4 separate regions of the Homo sapiens genome follow, and regions 1, 3 and 4 are each linked to region 2. Evidence: promoter capture Hi-C in 16 types of primary human blood cells and fetal thymus (Javierre and others, 2016). All regions are on one chromosome and are shown on one strand. The core of a region is centred on a gene start or on the middle of the fragment in contact, and the rest is flanking DNA. Distances in the headings are between cores, read along the strand shown. Region 1 has its middle 8.4 kb from the start of LINC02724. Region 2 holds the start of RASGRP2 (RAS guanyl releasing protein 2). Region 3 holds the start of RPS6KA4 (ribosomal protein S6 kinase A4). Region 4 holds the start of LOC105369341 (a long non-coding RNA gene).

Region 1 (4,674 bases), core at 1,831-4,330, 290 kb before region 2:
TCCAGGCCACCACATTGGTCAGTGCCAGGAGCAACATCGTGTTAACCAGACCTACAGAGCAAGAAGCAGCAGGTCCCTTGGAAGCTTTCGTAGAATATGTGGGGGAGGAGGATGGGGGGTTAATGGGAAGGCTCAGGGGCTGCCATGCTGTAGGGGTTTGACGGGGCCAGTGGTCTGGCCATGTCGGGCTATCTCCTGCAAAGTAAAGGGTGGTTACTGCACCTGTCCTTCCTACCACGTGGAAGGAGGCACGACTTCTGGCGGGACTCTTTGAATTTGGGGGTGGCATACTCAGCACTTGGGAATCCAGTTTTGGCCCATTTCTTGAGTGACACAGAAGGCTGCTAGTTTGGAGATGCAGTTCTATGAGCAAGTGTGCTTGGGACATGTGACTCTGCAGACCCTGTGCTACACGGGGTGTCTGTAGTGGAGAGGGTCACCACACGGTGTCCCTGGCAGGCCCCAATAGGAAAGCCACAGTGCAGACCCCGAGGGTGCTGGAACAACGCCACGCCATCTGCAGCAGAGAAGGGCTCTGGATGTGTCCCCAAGCCCTGGGAGAAACTGAGCATCTGACCAGGGGACATCAAGTGATCAAGTGGACACAGCTTTTCACCATGAGCTGACGAGTCACCAAATCACAAGGCCAGGCATCCGTCATGAGGCACAAGTGGCACATCAGGGATTGGGCTCCCAAAGGTCCCCAAGGCAGGAGCTACGTGGTCCAGACCCCCTGCCTCTGGCCATGCGGCACCAAGGCCTCCCCTCAGCTCACATCCTGGGGGGTTTTCCTGTGACCAGCGGAGATAGGCTGCAGTCTCACCCCAGCGGACGTGTTCCTGCGAGCTGAACGCGTGTGGCTGCTGCACCACAGCCCTCCCAGGGAGGCCCTCAAAGACAGCGGCAGGCCGTCGGCAGTGCACCTGGTGTGTGCACTTGTGCAAAGAGAGAAGTGGCTTGAGGAAAGAATGTACATGGGCTTGTGGACAGTGGACAGTGGCTTAGCTGGTGGGTCAGGGATCTAGAAGGAGCAAGACTGGAAGTTTAGGCCGGGCTCGGTGGCTGACGCCTGTCATCCCAGCACTTTGGGAGGCCGAGGTGGGCTGATCACTGAGGTCAGGAGTTCAAGACCAGCATGGCCAACGTGGTGAAACCCTGTCTTTACTAAAAATACAAAAATTAGCCAGGCATGGTGACGCATTCCTGTAATCTCAGCTACTCGGGAGGCTGAGGCAGGAGAATTGCTTGAACCTGAGAGGTGGAGGTTGCAGTGAGCCGAGATTGTGCTACTGCACTCCAGGCTGGGCCACAGAGCGAGACTCCATCTCAAAACAAAAACAAAAAGATTGGAAGTTCAGGAACAAGAAGGGCTGGGGGAAAGGCATGTGTGTAGGCTGGTAGGACAGGCATGAAGAGTGAAAATCTTGATCTCAGATTAACATCCGAGAGTATCCCGTGCGGAAGAGACACTGAACAACCAAATGGACAGGACGACCCAGTTGGCCTTCATCCTTGGCTGCCATAGGGCTTGGGCAATGGGCTCACGAGTGGAACTGTCATGGCGGCAGAGACGGCGGCTACTCCTGGGCCCAAGAGCACGTGCCTCTACTTATCGAGGCTGACACGGTTACTGCCACCTCTGCGTGTCTGATCCGTCAGCAACTGAGACCAACGCTGAGCTCCCAGTACTGTCCCATTCCCTTGAAATGACTGGCCAGCCACTTAGTAGCAAACTGATTTCACAGGACCCCTTCCACCCTGGAAAGGGCAGAGATTCACTCAGTTCCATCAGCCCGATTCCAGGAATGGGCTTGCAGTTCCTACTTTTGGGGTCTCTGCCAACATCACTCTCTGAGGGCTCGCTCTCTAAGTGGCTGATTCTCCTACACAGGATTCTGAATGACATCACCTAAGGCCAGGGGATTCACTCTGTGGGGAAGCAGGTGCGGCAGTGGGCACGTGACCGTGGGATCCGCCAGCCCTACTGCAGATCACGTCTTCTGGAATGCCAGCCTGGGCAGCCGCAGAATGGCCTCTGGGATCACAGCTTTGAGGTGATACCAGGTCACTATCCCTCAGGGTGTGATTGCTCCTTAAACTAAGCAATTATAAGGCACTGTGTTCACTCCAGGCAGCATAAGGGTTAGGAGTGGCCCTATTCGCCATTTCCCCTGTGACCCACATTGAGGAATCTGTGCCTCCTATCCCCACGCCATTAGGCTTTGTCCATCAAGAAGTCCTGGTCCCTGAGGGAACATGGCTTCCATAGGGGATATGGTGAGGGTCCCACCAAGCTTGAAGCTCTGGTTGCTGCCTGGTGCCTTTGGGCTTCTGTGCTAGTGGCCCAGCAGGTATGGAATGAACGTTCTACACAGCACGGGCCAGGGATCCCGATCAGCAGAGGGAGGAATGCAGCTATAGGATGGGGCCTATATGTAAATTGGCACATACAGCAACCATGGCGTGATCAGGCCATGGCAACCAGGGCCTCAGACCCCTCAGGGATGAGAGTCTGGGTCGCCCCACCAGGCAAGGCCCCAGCCCAGCAGAGAGTAAGGGAGGAGTCAAGGGGGCCGATGGCATGGATCAGTTAAGGCCTTGGGGTCAGTGGCAGCAATGGGGTCCCTAGTCCTTCGCAAGAGCCTGCCTTGTGGCGGTTTCCCCAGGGAGGGTTTCTGACCGTCCTGGAGAAGCTGGGCCTGCACAGAGTGGACTCTATGCGAGAAGCAAACAGGTCTGAATGGTGCAAAGGGTGGGCTGTAGTGGACAGTCTGGTGCCTGGCCCAGACCCCTTCACCTGGCCAGGGCACATGTCCGTCCATCAGCAGCTGCAAGAGGGACTGCTAGTGGCAGGGAGTTTCCCGTCTTCTCCACACTTGACCTCAGCCAATGGAGCTGCTCTTCCTGCGGTGTAAAGTCCCCTTCTCACTGCAGTGACAGGCCACAGCCAGTGGCTGAGGAATCAAGGGGACAAAAGACCAGCTCCATTGCTTCAAGCTGGGACAGCCCTGCAGTGGGGTTTACTCTTTAGAGCCTCCTCGGATCAGAACCTGAGACTCAACTTGAGGGCACGTGCCTGCCTGGCCTGCACCCCTCCCTCATCTGCTTCCCTCACTTCCTGAGAGCTTCTCCTGCAGAGCGGTCCCTGGTCAATGACCAGAACAGGAAGATCCAGAGACAGAGCCCATTGATGGAGCCTGGGCGGAGCCAGTGGGGAATAGGGAGTGATGCTGAATAGGTATGAGGTTTTCTTTCAGGCAAGGAAAATGTTTTGGAACTTGATAGAGGTGGTGGCTTTAAAACATCGTGAGGGTACTAAATGGCACAGAAACAGTACACTTTAAAATGGTTAATTTTATGTAACACGAATTTCACCCCAATTTAAAGAAATAGATATAAGAAAAAAAAGGACCTCCCCCTTCGTCCCCGGCAGCCACTGCCAGCTTCTTTCTTGCGGTGGGCTGAGCCTCAGCCTTTAGTGAGATGGAGAGTTGGATTCTCACCTGGTCTTGGGTGTCATAATTACTGAGCCAAGGCTGTTCTTGGATCTAGAAGTGAGGACATGACTTACATTGCCTGGGACCATGTGCCTGCCTGAGATTTATCTCAAGCGGGGGTGGGAGAAAGGAGCCCCACAGACTGAGGACAAAGCAATATCACCCTGTCCTGCACCTTGCCTGTCCTGTTCTTCCTCAGGACTGGCCACGCTGAGGTGTCACTTTTCTTCCTAAAATCCTCTGCAGCGTTGGAGACAGCATCCCCAACCCCCCAAAAGAAAGTAAACATAATGCTTACTTTCTTTCTTGTGAATACTAATCCTGGCTAAATTATTCACTTCTTTTTAAACCCCTATTTTTTTTTTTAAACAAAGCTTTTCTTTATTAACTGAGAAGGATTTACCCCTCAGAATCCAGGCATCTCTCTCAGCCCCATGGAGAAGGGGGAGACGGGATCGAATGTGTTGGGAGCTGAGCAGTAAGAAGGGAATCTCAGGAAATCCCACTGGTGCTCAGACATGGGATCACATCACCCTCTCAAAGAGGCTCCCCTGGGCTCTCTGTCCCGCCCCGCCCCGCACCCCCACCCCCTTTCCATTTCCTGTATTTTCTCTGTAACACGATGGTTCTGGGATGACCTCACTTGCTGACTTTTCTTCCACTGGAAGTCGGCCCCATGAGCGCAGGGACCTCATTTTTCTTGCTTGCCAGAGCATCTGCCTCACCCCAGAACCTCATCTGCCACACCGAGGTGCGCAGGAAGTGTTCACTGCACAACTGCACAGTGCTTTCTAGGTTAATACATGTTTATCCATTCCTTGCCTTTAAAAAAAATTGTGGTAAAATGTATATAACATAAAATTGACCATGTTAACCATTTATAAATGCATAGTTCTGTGGTATTAAGTACATTCACATTGCTGTGCAACCATCCTCAGCATCCATCCATCTCCAGCCCTTTTTCATCTTCCCAGATTGAAGCTCTGTGCCTGTTAAATACTGACCGCCCGTCCCCGACCCCAGCCCTGGGAAACTCTCTTCTATTCTCTGACTCCCTGAATCTGACTGCTCCAGGTACCTCCTATAAGTGGAGTCATACAGTACTTGCCCTTTTGTGACTGGCTTCTTTCACTTAGCCCTAATGTTTTCAGGTTCAACCATGTTGCAGCATATGTCA
Region 2 (4,718 bases), core at 1,241-3,740:
AGGGGTTGGAGGTGGGGGTGGAGGACTAGGTGCTGAGGGAGGCTGAAAGCAAAGCCTGGGCTCTGGGAGAGAGAGATGCACGGGGCGCACCCAAGCCTGAAGCAGGGGCAGGCCCCAGACTCTAGGGAGAAGGAGGGCAAGGCCTCGGCTGGGGACAGAGCCTGGGGACAGGACCGAGTCGCTAGGAGCAAGGAGGGGGCAGAGCCTAGGCCCTAGTTGGAGGCTGGGACGACGCCTGAGCTCTGGGATAAGGAGTGGCCTATACTTAGGAGCGAGGCTCATTCTGCACCTGGGCTGGGCAGAGGGGCTGCGCATGGGCTCCGACGGCGGGGGCCTTGGCAAGGCCGGCGAAGGATATATGTGGAGCAGCTTGGCCGCCAGCTGAGAGGAGGGGATGTACCAGGGGTGCATCATGAGGAACATGCGCACCAGCTGCGGGTCCCGCACCTTCCCGGAGTCATCTGACTCCGAAGGGTCAAAGACAGGTGGCTGAGCTGGGTCCGCAGCTACCATGCCTCATCCTCACCCCGCAACCCGCCAGGTATCGGTCCTTCGGGTGCACGCTCGACCCCGCCCACCTCCTGCTTGCCCAGGACTCCGAGAGCAGGAGGCAAATTAGAGAGGAAAGGTGTGGTGGGCGAGAGATAGGCACGCCCTGAGGACTGGAGGAGGGGAGCGCCCGAGCCGCCCATCGTCCGGAGGGGAACCAGCTGGGGCGGAAGGAGCCTGGGTTCCCCGGGGTCAAGAATCCAGAGGTCATTTCCTGAGCGCTTGGGGGGAAGGGGCACCCCTTCACCAGATAAGCCGCCCCCCATTAGCCGGAAACAGCTCCCAGGCCGGAGATAGCGAGTTCCTCCGGATTCCCCGGGAGACAGATAATGCCCCTCAAGTGTCAGAGTCCGGGACCCGGCCCTCCCTTCGCCGCCGCTGGGGAAGGCTAGAGAAGGGAAACCTCATCTGTCTGAAGGGCGTGCATCTCTCTGCCCTGCGTTGCGGAGGAGGCTTTCGTTAAAGAGACTGCACGCTGCGGAGCAGGGTGGGTCCGGGTCAGGGCTGTGCCCTGGACTGTGCCTGGGAGGCAGGGACCCGGGCTCAGACTCGGGGCTAGGCTCAGGCTCCGTGTGCCCTCCCGAGCCACTCACCGAAGGCTTCGATGCACCCGCGGAGCAGCTCCTCCACCGTGCAGCCCTTGTCCAGGTCCAGGGTGCCTGCCATGGCCGCCGGCGCGGGGTGGGCTGGGCCCAGGCTGCGCTCCGGGAGCCTCCCACCGGGCTCGGACCGAACCCCTGTCCCGGGAGAGGCAGAGCGGGAGTCTGCGGAGTCGCGGGCGGGGGAGCGGCCCCGCGGGCAGAAACGGGGCGGGGCGGGCACGCCCCCTGCTGGACAGGGGCGGAGTTGTCCCCCGCGGCCACTCCCGGGGTTAAACGGTCTGGCCCGGGATGGTGCAACCCGCCAGTTGGGAAACGGACCCGCAGAGAGGCTTCCGGCCCACCCTCGGAGTCGCGGGAAGGCCGAGGGGCTTCACGAGGATGGGGACGAACCAAGATCCCAGGACTGGCTGGCGCCCAGCCCCCCGCAGGGCGCCTTCTCCTCGCGCCCTCTCCCCAGAGGCACCTGCAGCACCCCGCAGCTCGGCTCTGCGCCCCTCCCGCTTCCCTCCCTCCACAGCCTCCCTTCCCCCGCAGGGTTATTTTGGGAACCCAGAGCCTGAGGGGACCTCGGAGGAATTTCTCCCTGGTATGGGAGGTGGGGGGAGAGAACCCAGGCGTCCTGCCCGCCTCGCCCCCTCCCGGGAGCCCAGGAAGGCGAGGCGGGGCTGCGGCAGCCCCCAGGGGGCCTGCCCTAGGGGAGGCGGACTGGATGGGAGAGGAACATTCCTGGGGCGGGGGGAGCCCGCTGCGGCCAGGAGGCGTCAGCGGGAAGCCTGAGCCTGGGAACTGAGCGCTCCCAGGCCACCTCCGCAAAGGTCCCAGGGGTCCCGGCTCAGCTTGTCCACAGGCCCTCTTCCTCCCTATCCCCGGCTCCTGACCCTGGCCCCGGCCCCGCACAGGCGAACTGTGAGCGCGCACGGAGCAGGGTGTCCAGAGGGGGGCGCTCGCGCCAAGGGTGGCCGGTGGGTGCATGACACCATTAGCAACTCCGGTCACTGGCGGGGTCATACGCACCCTGGCAGGGGCAAACACTCCACACCCAAGTTATTCGTCGGAGGCCGGGGACCTAAGTGGAGGTGCAGGCGTCCGCACTTACACGCACCGGGCCACAGGCACCGGCCTCCCATCCTCCGTCTCTCACACACAATGGCACCCACACCCTGTGCACACCTGCACGAAGAAACCCTCAGGCACACATACCCAGCTCGTCCACCCCAGAATGCAAACCCGCGGACGAGGTCGCCTCCTGGACGTGCTGTTCACTTGAGCCAGGCCAGCCTTGAGTCCCGCGGCCACACAGGCGCTGACATCCTCACACGTGTGCACACACGCAAGGCAGTGCCTCTCCACGCATGTACACTCCCACACACATGCACACACCCCCATGGGTGCGCACGCCCATTCCGTCGCCCCCCTCCCATTTGCGGTGCAGGGCCCGCCCTGCGGCCCCAGCTCCCTGACTCCCCTCACTCCCAGATTTTGGCAGAGCCTTGCCCCACGGAAAGGTACCCCGGCCCTACACATACTCACTCCCCCAGGCTGGAGGACAGGGGAGCTCCTGTACGGAGTTCTCAGGCGGACTTTTCCTAAGAGCCACCCAGAGCCGTCCCCGCCTGGCTCTACCGCTTCCTCGTGTGACCTTGAGAATCACTTGGCCTCTGGGAGCCTCAATTTTCTCATCTGCCAAATGGGGGTACGCGGGGGAGGGCCCCGCTGGAAGGTGGCTGGGAAAAGCTGGGTGCACCGTGGAGGTCCTCCGCCCTCCGGGGATCCAGCGCGCCTTAGCTCTCGTGGCCGCTGCCCCCTCTCCCAGACCCGGGCCGCAGACTCCCCACCCGCTCGCCGCCCCCAGCCCGCCCGCGCCGCCCTGGGCGGGGGGGGAGTCGCTGGGGGCCGCGCCCTCCTTCGCCTGGCGCCCCGCCCGCGCTCGCCCACTCACTCTTGGGACCTGCCGCAAGGAGCCCGCACCGGCCTGGCCGACCCCACCTCCGTGCGCTCCCGCCCGCCGGCCTCGCTGCGGCTGCGGCTCCCGCCCGCTCTCCACGCCGCGGCCCCGCTCCCCGCCGCCCCGCCCCCGCCCCCGCGCCAGGCTGCCCCCTCCCCCCTCCGCCCCTGCGCGGAGCTCCGCACCGCCGGCTGCGCCACCCCCACCGGGGGCTCCCTCTCGCCCCGCACGCGGCGGTCCCTGCGGCAGCTTAACCCCTCCCCTGCCGCGCCGCCCGGGAGGCCAGGGCCGCGGGCGGGGGGCTGCGCCACTAGCTGCCCCGAGGGCGGGCGACCGGAGGCCCCGCCGCCCGGGACGCGGAGGGGGGACCGAAACGAAGAGCCCCTCCCCCAACCGCGGACGCCCCAGTGCCCCCCGCCCTGCCTGGGTGTCGGGCGGAGGAAGCCGGGAGGGGCAGGAAGCGGACTGCGGTGGGGAAGGGGCGCCCCGCCCAGCCCCCAGCTCGGGTTCCTGTTTTCGAGACAAACCGTTCCCATGGGGCTAACCCGGCCCGGGACCGGGCGTCTTCCTGCAGGCAGCGGGTGGCACAGGCCTAGTGGAGGTCGGGGGCGTGGGGACAGCTGGTCCTTGAGATAGTCTGGGGGATGGGCTAGGACAAGATGGGAATATTTTGGGGAGAGGGACCTGTGGGGAGCGAGGAATGAAATCGTGGCTATCTGGAGACGCGGCCTTGATGTCTGGGAATGGGGGCGGGGGGCCCAGTTCACACAGGAGGAACGGGGCCCCGGAAGCCTGGCTCCCCACAGGGTCGAATGGAAAGGGGCAGCCGCATGTGGCGGTGGGTTCTCCGCAGCTCGGAGACTGGAGACCTGGATGCCTGGCCAACAGGGAGGAACTTGGGAGGGGCAGCCGCAGGCGGTTGGGGTCCCCACTAGCCGGGCCTAGGAGAGCGGGTAACGGTTTCCGACCATTTGGCTTCAGACACACTCACTGTGAAACCACCGACCCCAAACCTCCCTTCCGAGGCGTGCCCCTCCCAGCCTTGGGGCGGGGGATCCAGGACCGCCCCCGCACCTCAGTCTTGGTAATGTAAGACTTAGAAACAGGACCTTTCTGTTCCTCAGTTTCCCCATAATGAGGGCCTAGACTAGGCGGTCTGCGAGTGTTCCCTGCCGTAACACTCCCCCGACTTTGGATCCAGTGTAGCCACCTGCTAAGAGACCCTTAAACGCCGCAGTAGGGCGGGGCTAAGGGCGGAGCCAAGAAGGCGCCGAGCATCCTCTGCTTCCTCCCCCTCCTGGGTCCTGCCCTCGACAGCGCGGATCCTCCGTGGTCCGGGAAGCCTCAGCCCAAGTCCCGGCTCCCAGCCCCGGTGGGCCCCACCCAGGCAGACGCCCCGCCCCCGGCCAGCGAGGCTGGCCGCTGACCTAGTATGGACACGGCACTGGGAAGAGAGGCGTGGAGGGTGACGCCAGGAAAGGGGCTGGAGAGGCCTAGGCCCCGCCCCCACGGGTCGCCCCCTCCACCTCCCATCACCGTCCCGCCGTGGGACGCACCTGCCGAGGGTGGAGGATAAGGGGGTGACTGCGCGGCTGCTGTTGAGCCCGCCAAGAGCTAAAAAT
Region 3 (4,680 bases), core at 10-2,509, 380 kb before region 2:
TTCTCAGCCTGGCGGGGCATCACTTAATGCCAGGGGTTGCCAGGAGAGGTGGGAGGGACGCTGGCTCTCTGACCAGGGCCTCTAGCCTGATGCCTGAGAGGCGGGGCAATTCGGCTGGGGTGCAGGATGTGAGTCAGGGTACCTGGGGCCACCCAGGGGAGGGTGGAGCTGCCCAGGGCTGAGATAAGGCAGCCTGAACTTGGGGGGTGCAGAGCTGGGAGGGACGGTCCGTCCGGCCTCCCAGGTGTGACCTGCAGCAGCTTGAGTTCCTCCTCCTCTCAGCCAGGGCTTCACAGGACAGGGGCGTGGGGTGGACACCCTGGCCTCTCCAGCTGGCAGAGGAGCTGAGAGCCCCTCCCACCGGCCTCAGGGTGTGGGGCCTCATGGCTGTCCCACTCTGCTAGGTGGCCCCATTGGTGGTCAGGAAGGGAAAGGCAGGAAGAAGACGGAGCAGGGGCTCAGGAGGACCAGTCAGCAGGGGCCCTGGGCCTCATGGGGAGAGGGGGCAGCCCCGTGTGGCACTGACATCTCTTCTTGAGGCCTGCTCAGGGCTCTAAGCTGGGTACTGCACCAGGCTAGGAGACAACAGGAGCAGAACACGTGAGGTGCGCATGGCACCTGGTGGGCTCTGCACGGTGACTGGGGGCTGAAGTGCTTCTGCAGGCACCCCCGACAGAAAGCTGGTCAGAAAACTGGCCACTCCTCTCCTTGCCATGGGGTCCCAGGCCGGGCTCCAGCCCCCTCTTGGTGATGAGGCTCCTCCTTGCAAAGGCCAGTCCTCTGGGGAGAGGGGCCCTGCTGGCCACCCCCAGGACGATGGAGTGGGGTGGGCTCCACTGCCTGAGAGTTGGGTGACTTCCAGGATCCAGACCCCCTCTCAGCCTGCCCAGCACCAGGCACCTCGTCCCCCACCTTGGGGCACAGACTCCTAATGTCCTCCAGCCACTGGCTGCAGCCGGCATTCCCGGGCAGATTCCTGGCTTGGGGACTAATGCCCCAGAGGCTCCAGGTTACCCACGGGCTCAGGGATGGCTCCCACGGGGTGTTTCCAGTTCCCGGGAGAGTCGAGTAAGGTCCCGGAGCGCACGGCCCTGAGGCCTGGCCTGGGGGCTCGGGAGACAGGGCGGCCCCAGCCGGCCGCCCACCGGCAGCCCGGCGCTGTCACGTTCCAGCCGCCTGACTCAGGCCGCGCAGGGCGGGGAGCCGGGAGGCGGTGCCGGCGCCCGCCTCGGCCCCGGAGGCGGCACCAGGAAGCGCCCGCCCCGGCCGGAGCCGCCATGTAACCGGCGCCGCCCGGAGCCCGAGCCGCGCGGGCCCCAGCGACCCGCCCGCCATGGGGGACGAGGACGACGATGAGAGCTGCGCCGTGGAGCTGCGGATCACAGAAGGTGGGTGTGGGGCCTGACTGCGGCTGCCCGGGGCAGGCCGGGACGGGTCATGGACCGGCTGGGCTCATTCGCCCCCTGTGCCCACAGCCAACCTGACCGGGCACGAGGAGAAGGTGAGCGTGGAGAACTTCGAGCTGCTCAAGGTGCTGGGCACGGGAGGTGAGGACCCCCATCCACCGGGCAGGCGTCCCAGGCGCGGTGCCCCTGACCTCCTGCCTGCTCACTCTTGGGCCTGGGCCAGGCCACTGAGCAGGCCCCCCACCCTTTCCCGGCACAGCCTGCCTTGCCTGCCCCGCCCTGCCTCGCCAGAGTTTGCATGCCCACTTCCAGGGCACTCCACATTGACATCACTCCTCCCTCCACGGTCCTGTGCGTGCATACCCCCCTGGATTTGCCAACACCCTGGGGAGGGGGACTGGCGCCCCTCTCAAGTGATTTGCATAGCTCCTCCCTTTCTTCCAATATGGGATCCCCCTCCCACATTTTGCAAATGCCCCAGCGCTGGTTTGCGCATCCCTTCCCCAGCCAGGTGCACACCTCTGCCTCCCTTCCTTGCACTGGCATCTTTTCACATCCATCTGATCTCTCGCAGGTTTGCATATGCCCCGCCCCCATGCCTCGCAGCAGGCCCCCTGGAGATGCATGCTCCCCAGCCTGGTTTGCACATCCTTTCCCTGGTTTTGCTGGGCACCCTCCCGGGGTGTGCACACCCTTTCCTTAGAAGGCTCTGCCAGCTTTTTGCACACCTGCCTGTTGCCCCAGCTCCTTCGCCTCATTTGCACACCCTCCTGGGTTGGCATCGCCCCCACCCCCCAAGCCTGCACCAATCTCCCGCTCACAGCCCACCCTCCACCCACTCGCTGCTCCCACAGCCTACGGCAAGGTGTTCCTGGTGCGGAAGGCGGGCGGGCACGACGCGGGGAAGCTGTACGCCATGAAGGTGCTGCGCAAGGCGGCGCTGGTGCAGCGCGCCAAGACGCAAGAGCACACGCGCACCGAGCGCTCGGTGCTGGAGCTGGTGCGCCAGGCGCCCTTCCTGGTCACGCTGCACTACGCTTTCCAGACGGATGCCAAGCTGCACCTCATCCTGGGTGAGCGCACACCACATCCCAACGGGGTTGGGGTGGCTGGGGGCAGGCGAGGCCACCTGACGGGGCTGCTTCCTGACTTCCACTGCACCTCCCAGACTATGTGAGCGGCGGGGAGATGTTCACCCACCTCTACCAGCGCCAGTACTTCAAGGAGGCTGAGGTGCGCGTGTATGGGGGTGAGATCGTGCTGGCCCTGGAACACCTGCACAAGGTGGGTGAAGACCTGGCCGCAGGCTGTTGCTATGGAAACTGGGTCTGTGCCTTGGAAGGAATCTGCACGCAGGGCAGCCTCAGGCTTCCCCCTGGGCTTCCTGGGGGGCCAGTGGTGAGCTGGGTGGGAATTGGAGCTGCTTCCCCTGGACCCCTTGCAGGAAGCCTCAACGTTGCCTGGTGGGGTCCCCTCCCCTGGCACCTCCTCGAAGGGGCTTTCCTCTTTCAGGGAACTCGGGGCTGCGTTCACAGAACTTCCTCAAATGGAAACCTCACGGCCTGGCTCCTAAGGCCTCCTTGAAATGGAGCTCTTCACACAGACTTTCCTCTCTCTGGGACCTTGGGGCCTGATCCACGGGGCCCTCCTTCTTTGTTTTATATCTTAAATGGCCTTTCTTATTCAGTGGCTCTGCCCTGGAGACCCCCTCTACAGGCAGATGACTTTCTCTGGGGGGTCTCCTTATCCTGAGCAGGGCCAGGAGCTGGAGGAGCTGGGGAGGGTTTCGGGGAGGAAGCCTCAGCACCCCTCTTGCTCCTACCAGCTCGGCATCATTTACCGAGACCTGAAACTGGAGAATGTGCTGCTGGACTCCGAGGGCCACATTGTCCTCACGGACTTCGGGCTGAGCAAGGAGTTCCTGACGGAGGAGGTGAGTGGAGGCCACCTCTGCCTGCAGTGCCCCATTCAATCCTTCTCCTTCCTGCCTCTTCCTGCTCTGGGCCTGCATTCTGGGGCTGCAGAAGTGAATAGCTCCAAGAAGTTTCCACAGCTCAGCTCTCCAACCTCACAAGTTGAGCGAGTCTTACTCTGGGCCTTGTGGGGCACTGGGGCACAGGAGAGGTTTCGACATCTAAGCAGGACCTCTTGCCCTCCCAGAAAGAGCGGACCTTCTCCTTCTGTGGCACCATCGAGTACATGGCCCCCGAAATCATCCGTAGCAAGACGGGGCATGGCAAGGTAGGTTGGCAGGGAAGTGGGGCTGGGGGAGGTGGAAAGGTGGGGTGTGAGGCAGGGGAGATGCAGGCCCTCACCCCGGCTCCACCCGGCAGGCTGTGGACTGGTGGAGCCTGGGCATCTTGCTCTTCGAGCTGCTGACGGGGGCCTCGCCCTTCACCCTGGAGGGCGAGAGGAACACGCAGGCTGAGGTGTCTCGGTGAGTAGGGCTGGACGTGGAGGGCGGCCAGAGGGCTGCAGGGCCTGCCTGGGCAGGGCTGTGGGTGGGGGGCTTGCTGCCCCTGACACCCCCCCAATCCTCCCAGACGGATCCTGAAGTGCTCCCCTCCCTTCCCCCCTCGGATCGGGCCCGTGGCGCAGGACCTGCTGCAGCGGCTGCTTTGTAAGGATCCTAAGAAGCGATTGGGCGCGGGGCCCCAGGGGGCACAAGAAGTCCGGAACCATCCCTTCTTCCAGGTGAGGCTGACTCAGGGCCCCATACCTCCTGGTGCATACCCAGGTGGGGCTGCTGTTCCAGGTTGAGGTTGTGCCTGGCCAGTTTCACTTTATTTGGAAATCCCCCCAGAGAAAGAAAGCAAGTGTGTGTCAGCTAGGTTTCTCTTCACATCCATCCCCACTGAAACTTGGCAGATGTGTTCCTGAAAGAAAGGATTCTAGGTTCATTGGCTGTTGGGGCTGTCAGGGATTTGAGAATGGATTGGTCGGTCCTTTCACTGGACAGACCCAGAGAAGGCAGGTGACCTGCCCCCGACGGCACAGTAAATGGTGCCGAGTTGGGAATAGACCTTGGGTCTAGATAGATCTCCTGCTGGTCCAAATCAGTACGGAAACCCACACTTATGGCTTTTAGCACCCACCCAGGCATTTTGTTCTTTGTCCCCGTCCCTGTACAGTCTGTGTGCCTGTCATTCAGATGGACGGTTGATCAGCACACATGGGTGTTTGCTCACTTGTTAGGAGCACACACATGTTAGAGTGCAGTGCAGAGTGAATCTGGCCATGCGAGAATGCACTGACTCAGGGGCTGGGCCTGGCC
Region 4 (4,545 bases), core at 1,034-3,533, 320 kb before region 2:
GGGAAAGTGTAAAATGATGAATTTGCTTTGGAAAATGGTATAGTGGTTCCTCAAATAATTAAACATAGAACTACCATATAATCCAGTAATTCCATTTCTGAGTATATACCTAAAACAATGGAAAGCAAGACGTTGAAGAGATTTGTACACCCATGTTCCTAGCAGCATTCTTCACAATAGGCAAGAGGTGGAAACAGTGCAGTTGTCCATTGACAGATGTATTAGTCAGTTTTCATGCTGCTGATAAACACATGCCTTAGATTGGTTAACTTTTTTTTTTTTTTTTTTTTTTTTTGAGATGGAATTTTGCTCTTGTTGCCCAGGCTGGAGTACAACAGCTCAATCTCGGCTCACTGCAACCTCTGCCTCCCGGGTTCAAGCAATTCTCCTGCCTCAGCCTCCTGAGTAGCTGGGATTACAGGTGCCCGCCACCACGCCCAGCTAATTAAGACTGGTTAACTTATAAAGGAAAGAAGTTTAATTGACTCACAGTTCCACATGGCTGGGGAGGCCTCACAATCATGGTGGAAGGCAAGGAGGAGCAAAGTCATGTCTTATGTGGCGGCAAGGAAGAGAGAGAAATGAGAACAAAGCAAAAGGGGTTTCCCCTTATAAAACCATCAGATCTCATGAGACTTATTCAATACCACGAGAACAGCACAGAGGAAACCGCCCCCATGATTCAACTATTTCCTCACTGAGTCCCTCCCGCAAGTGGGAATTATGGGAGCTACAATTCACGATGAGATTTGGGTGGGGACACAGCCAAACCATATCAACAGATGAATGGCTAAGCAAAATGTGGCCTATCCATACAGTGGAATATTGCTCTGCCTTAAAAAGGAAGGAAATTCTGACACATGCTACGCGTGGATAGACATTCAGGATCTCGTGCTAAGTGCAACGAGCCAGTTATGAAAGGACAGATACTGTAGGATTCCACTTATAGGAGGCACCTGGAGTGAGATGCATAGAGTCAGAGAGTGGAATGGTGGGTGCCAGGGGCTGGGGGAGGGGCAAATGGGGGGTTAGTGTGGAGTTCTGGTTGGGAAGATGAAAAAGTTCTGGAGCTGAATGGTGGGGATGGTCACACAACAATGCACTTAATGTCACTGGACTGTATACTTAAGAATGGCTAAAATGATAAATTTTACGATATACATATTTCACCACAATAAAAGTTAAAAAGAATAATTTAGATAAACCCTGGGAAGGTGTTCATCAAGGTTTCCAAAATGCCAGGTGGTCCTGGTCTTAGTCAGGTGTCTGGATGGAGAATGCTGGTGCCCCAACTCCTCCTCCTGTCTGTGCCCACACGCAGTGCTGGGCCGGACACTTGTCTGTCCTGAGGGGAATGTGCAGCCTCTGGGCCTCCCTGGAGAGAACAGGTGAAGGAATGCCTGGGGCTCTCTCTGTGCCCTCCTCGGGAGGAAACGGGACCCAGGCGATCTTGGACAGAAGCAGGGTCCCGAGCAGGGGATCACTAGCTGCTTCCGTCCGTCTCTCTTCGGCCCTCCTGTCTGCCAGCTGCACCTCTGCTCTCTTCCAAGGGGCAGCCCCCACCAGGGGCAGTTGTCCAGCTCTTGTGCCTGGGCCGGCACTGGCAAGTTCATTTCCATGGGCATAAGCAGTCTCCATTCTGGCTTGGCAGCAATAAACCTGGCACTGGATGTTGTCCTGGTCCATACATATGTGCCAATCGGTCCAGACTCCTAGAGCTCAACAAATGGTCCTGTGAGAGCCTGGCGCTGTGTGAGCCCGGGAAGGCAGTGCAGTGCAGTGGCCAGGTCATGTCACCCAGGCTAGGGCTTGGCCTTCTGGGGAGCACAGCGAGGGATGGCCTGCCCTAAGGAAGGCCCTCTCTGAGGTGGGGATGGTTTTCCAGGGTTCCCTGGGCTCCCAGGTGCTCCCTCCTCCCCTGTACCCCACTCTTCCATACCCCGGGGCTCATCCCTTCTCCACTTGGGTCCTTGTTCCACTGAAAATCTCCCCCTACCCTCCCATCTCATGGTTTTCTTCCTCCCCGCTGGCTCTGCCTTCCCTTCAACCAGCACCAATGCCAAAATCAGCACCAGGAGCTGCCATTCATATCGTCTCTACCATATGCCCATTTGAATCCTTATTGACAAGCTTGTGACCTTTGTCAAATTAGTGACCTATCTGAGCCTCAGTTTCCTTTCCTGTAAAATGGGCACATTAATACCTATTTTACAGATGGTTGTGAGATGGGTCGTGCCTGACACCATTTGGCGCTCAGCCAACTCTTGTTTGTTTCGTCGATTCTGCTGGGTTGCCTGGCATTTTGATTTATCTTTAATTCATACCTTTGAATCTGCTGTAAACTTGGCAGCCACATCACCAAGCTCGTTAGATTGCAGGTTGGGAAGCCTAATTAGGTTCTAAGGAGGTTAGAAATCTGTCCTCAGGGACAAGTTCTCAAGCTTTAGAATGTGGACTCATGACGTCATTTTGGTCCCTGGAGGCATTCTTCTCTAGCTGTATGTGGGAAGCTCTGTGTTCCAGGCTGTGAGGCTGCCAGGCAACAAAGTTTCCCAAGTCTCAAGGAGCCATGTTGTGAGTGTTTGACAGCCAGGTCTTGGAAAGGAAGGCCAACATGCCCTGGGCTGATCAGACTCCATCATGTTGACTCCTGGGAGGCACATTTTTGAGAAACAATTAGGAACCAGGAAGCATTCTGAGGAGGAAAGCCAGGATAAAGAAGACTCAGATAAAAAAGTCATCCCACCAGGTCTGGATGCAGTGTGACTGTATCAGTCAGCTTTTGCTGGGTTATGCCAAGTAACAAACAGGTACCAAACTCAGTGGCTTATAATAATTATAATAAAAAGGGTTGTTCTTATTAATGTTGCACATTGCCTGCAGTAGGTGTGAGCCTGTTCTATGTTTTTTTCATTCTAGGATTCAGGCTGAAAGATCAGCTATGAAACTGCTGGTTTTGAGGCACAGGAAAAAGAGTGATGGCAGAACTGAGAAATGACTTTAAAGCCTCTGCTCAGAAGTGGCTTATATCCCTCTGTTCACATTTTATTGGCCACAGAGAATCACATGATCAAATATGTCTTCAGACTTGATGGGCTTAGGGAGATACCATGCTCCCACAGGGAGGGGTGGTAACTATTTGGCCAGCACAGAGTAGATACCAACAGTTATTAAACTGTTTGTTGAATGAATGAATAGATGAATTCTCTGATCCTGGAAGGATTTAAATAAAGAATGGATGACCATTTGTATTACCTATCTATTGCTGCATAACAAATTATTAAAAAACAGTCTGGGTGTGGTGGCTCTCACCTGTAATCCCAGCACTTTGGGAGACTGAGGTGGGAGGATGGCTTGAGCTCAGGAGTTTGAGATGAGCCTGGGCAATGGAGCAAGACCTCATCTCTATTAAAAAAGTTTATTAAAAAACTTAGTGGCTTAAAGCAACAATAAACATTTATTATCTCACATAGTGTCTGTGGGGCAGTAATTCTGGAATGGTTTACTTAGCAGGATGGCTCAGATTTGAGGTTTCTCATGAGATTGTAGCCAAGTTATTGATCAGAGCTGCAGCCATTTATAGGCTCCACTGCCAAAAGGCTCTGATTCCAGGATGAGTCACTGACATAGACGGGGAATTGGGACTGGCTGTTAGCAGGAGGCCTCACTTCCTCACCATGTGGCTTATCCACAGGGCTGCTTGAGTGTCCTCACAATATGGTGGCTGAATTCCTCCAGAGCAAGTAATCCTGGAAAGAACAAGACAGAAGCCACAATGTCTTTAAAGCTTCAGAAGGCACACACTATCATTTCTACAATATCCTACTGGCTACACAGGTCTTCCCTATTCGATGTGGGAAGGGACTAAATAAAGGTGTAAATAGCAGGAGGGGATATCATATGGGGCCATGTAGGAGGCAGTCTATCATAGCTCACCCTCTGGCCCCCAATAAATTATATCCTTTCCACATGTAAATACTCTTACCTCCTCCCACAGCCTCCAAAATTCTCATCTTATTAAAGCTCAAAGTCCAGAATCTCATCATCTAAATCAGGTTCAGATGAGGCTTCTAGGGTAAGGCTCCTCAAGTACAGCTCTTGAGAATAGTTTTGCTTGATCTGAAGACATGTGAACTAAAGAGGCAGTTATCTGTATCTCTGTATCTCTGTACCCTGCAACATACAACAGTGTGAGAAGCATAAGATAACCATTATAGACATTCCCAATTCGAGAAGAGAGGCACATAGAGCTGTTTGTGGTGGTGTGTGCCTGTAGACCCAGCTACTCGAGAGGCAGAGGCAGGAGGACCACTTAAGTCCAGGAGTTCAAGGCCAGCCTGGGCAACATAGTGAGGCCCTGTTTAGAAAAAAAATAAAAGGAGGCACACAGGAGTCACTAGCACATAGCAATTCTTAAATCTAGCAGACCACACATTGGAAGTTACTACACTAGGACTTCAGGGCTGGAAATAATTCTCCTTGGCTCTTGGCTCTGCCCTAGGGACTGTTGGCTTTGTCTGGGGGCTGAGTCACCTTTTCTTTTTC

The links. Contacts are between HindIII fragments. The CHiCAGO score rates a contact against its expected background, and 5 or more counts as called.
Region 1: a fragment that was not itself captured here is called in contact with the fragment with the promoter of RASGRP2 in region 2 in 2 of 17 cell types (M0 macrophages and endothelial precursors); the score reaches 6.5 in M0 macrophages.
Region 3: the fragment with the promoter of RPS6KA4 here is called in contact with the fragment with the promoter of RASGRP2 in region 2 in 1 of 17 cell types (M0 macrophages); the score reaches 6.9 in M0 macrophages.
Region 4: a contact is called between a fragment that was not itself captured here and the fragment with the promoter of RASGRP2 in region 2, in 4 of 17 cell types (M2 macrophages, M1 macrophages, endothelial precursors and 1 more). The highest score is 9.7, in M2 macrophages.

What each region holds. Positions count from the first base shown.
Region 1 is chr11:64,455,133-64,459,806 of GRCh38, forward strand. No RefSeq gene overlaps it. Among named protein-coding and RNA genes, the nearest start is that of LINC02724, 8.4 kb to the left of the region's middle. The HindIII fragment of the contact is 1,577 bases long and covers 2,293-3,869 here.
Region 2 is chr11:64,741,652-64,746,369 of GRCh38, forward strand. It overlaps RASGRP2 (RAS guanyl releasing protein 2), which reads right to left and starts at 2,491. Exons shown (of 17, transcript NM_001098671.2): 1 at 2,352-2,491; 2 at 1,143-1,286; 3 at 359-461. The coding sequence starts at 1,215. RefSeq lists silencers at 1,158-1,487, 1,798-1,847, 2,008-2,057, 3,048-3,157, 3,408-3,607 and 1 more. The HindIII fragment of the contact is 16,622 bases long and covers 1-4,718 here.
Region 3 is chr11:64,357,903-64,362,582 of GRCh38, forward strand. It overlaps RPS6KA4 (ribosomal protein S6 kinase A4), which reads left to right and starts at 1,260. Exons shown (of 17, transcript NM_003942.3): 1 at 1,260-1,388; 2 at 1,476-1,547; 3 at 2,261-2,479; 4 at 2,575-2,690; 5 at 3,232-3,339; 6 at 3,567-3,647; 7 at 3,740-3,843; 8 at 3,950-4,100. The coding sequence starts at 1,334. RefSeq lists a silencer at 1,046-1,535 and enhancers at 1,285-1,812, 2,546-2,655. The HindIII fragment of the contact is 11,991 bases long and covers 1-4,680 here.
Region 4 is chr11:64,417,813-64,422,357 of GRCh38, forward strand. LOC105369341 (a long non-coding RNA gene) reads right to left here and starts at 2,403. Exons shown (of 4, transcript XR_001748069.2): 1 at 2,325-2,403; 2 at 491-553. It overlaps LOC124902689 (a long non-coding RNA gene), which reads left to right and starts at 324. Exons shown (of 2, transcript XR_007062720.1): 1 at 324-2,810; 2 at 2,920-3,258. The HindIII fragment of the contact is 311 bases long and covers 2,129-2,439 here.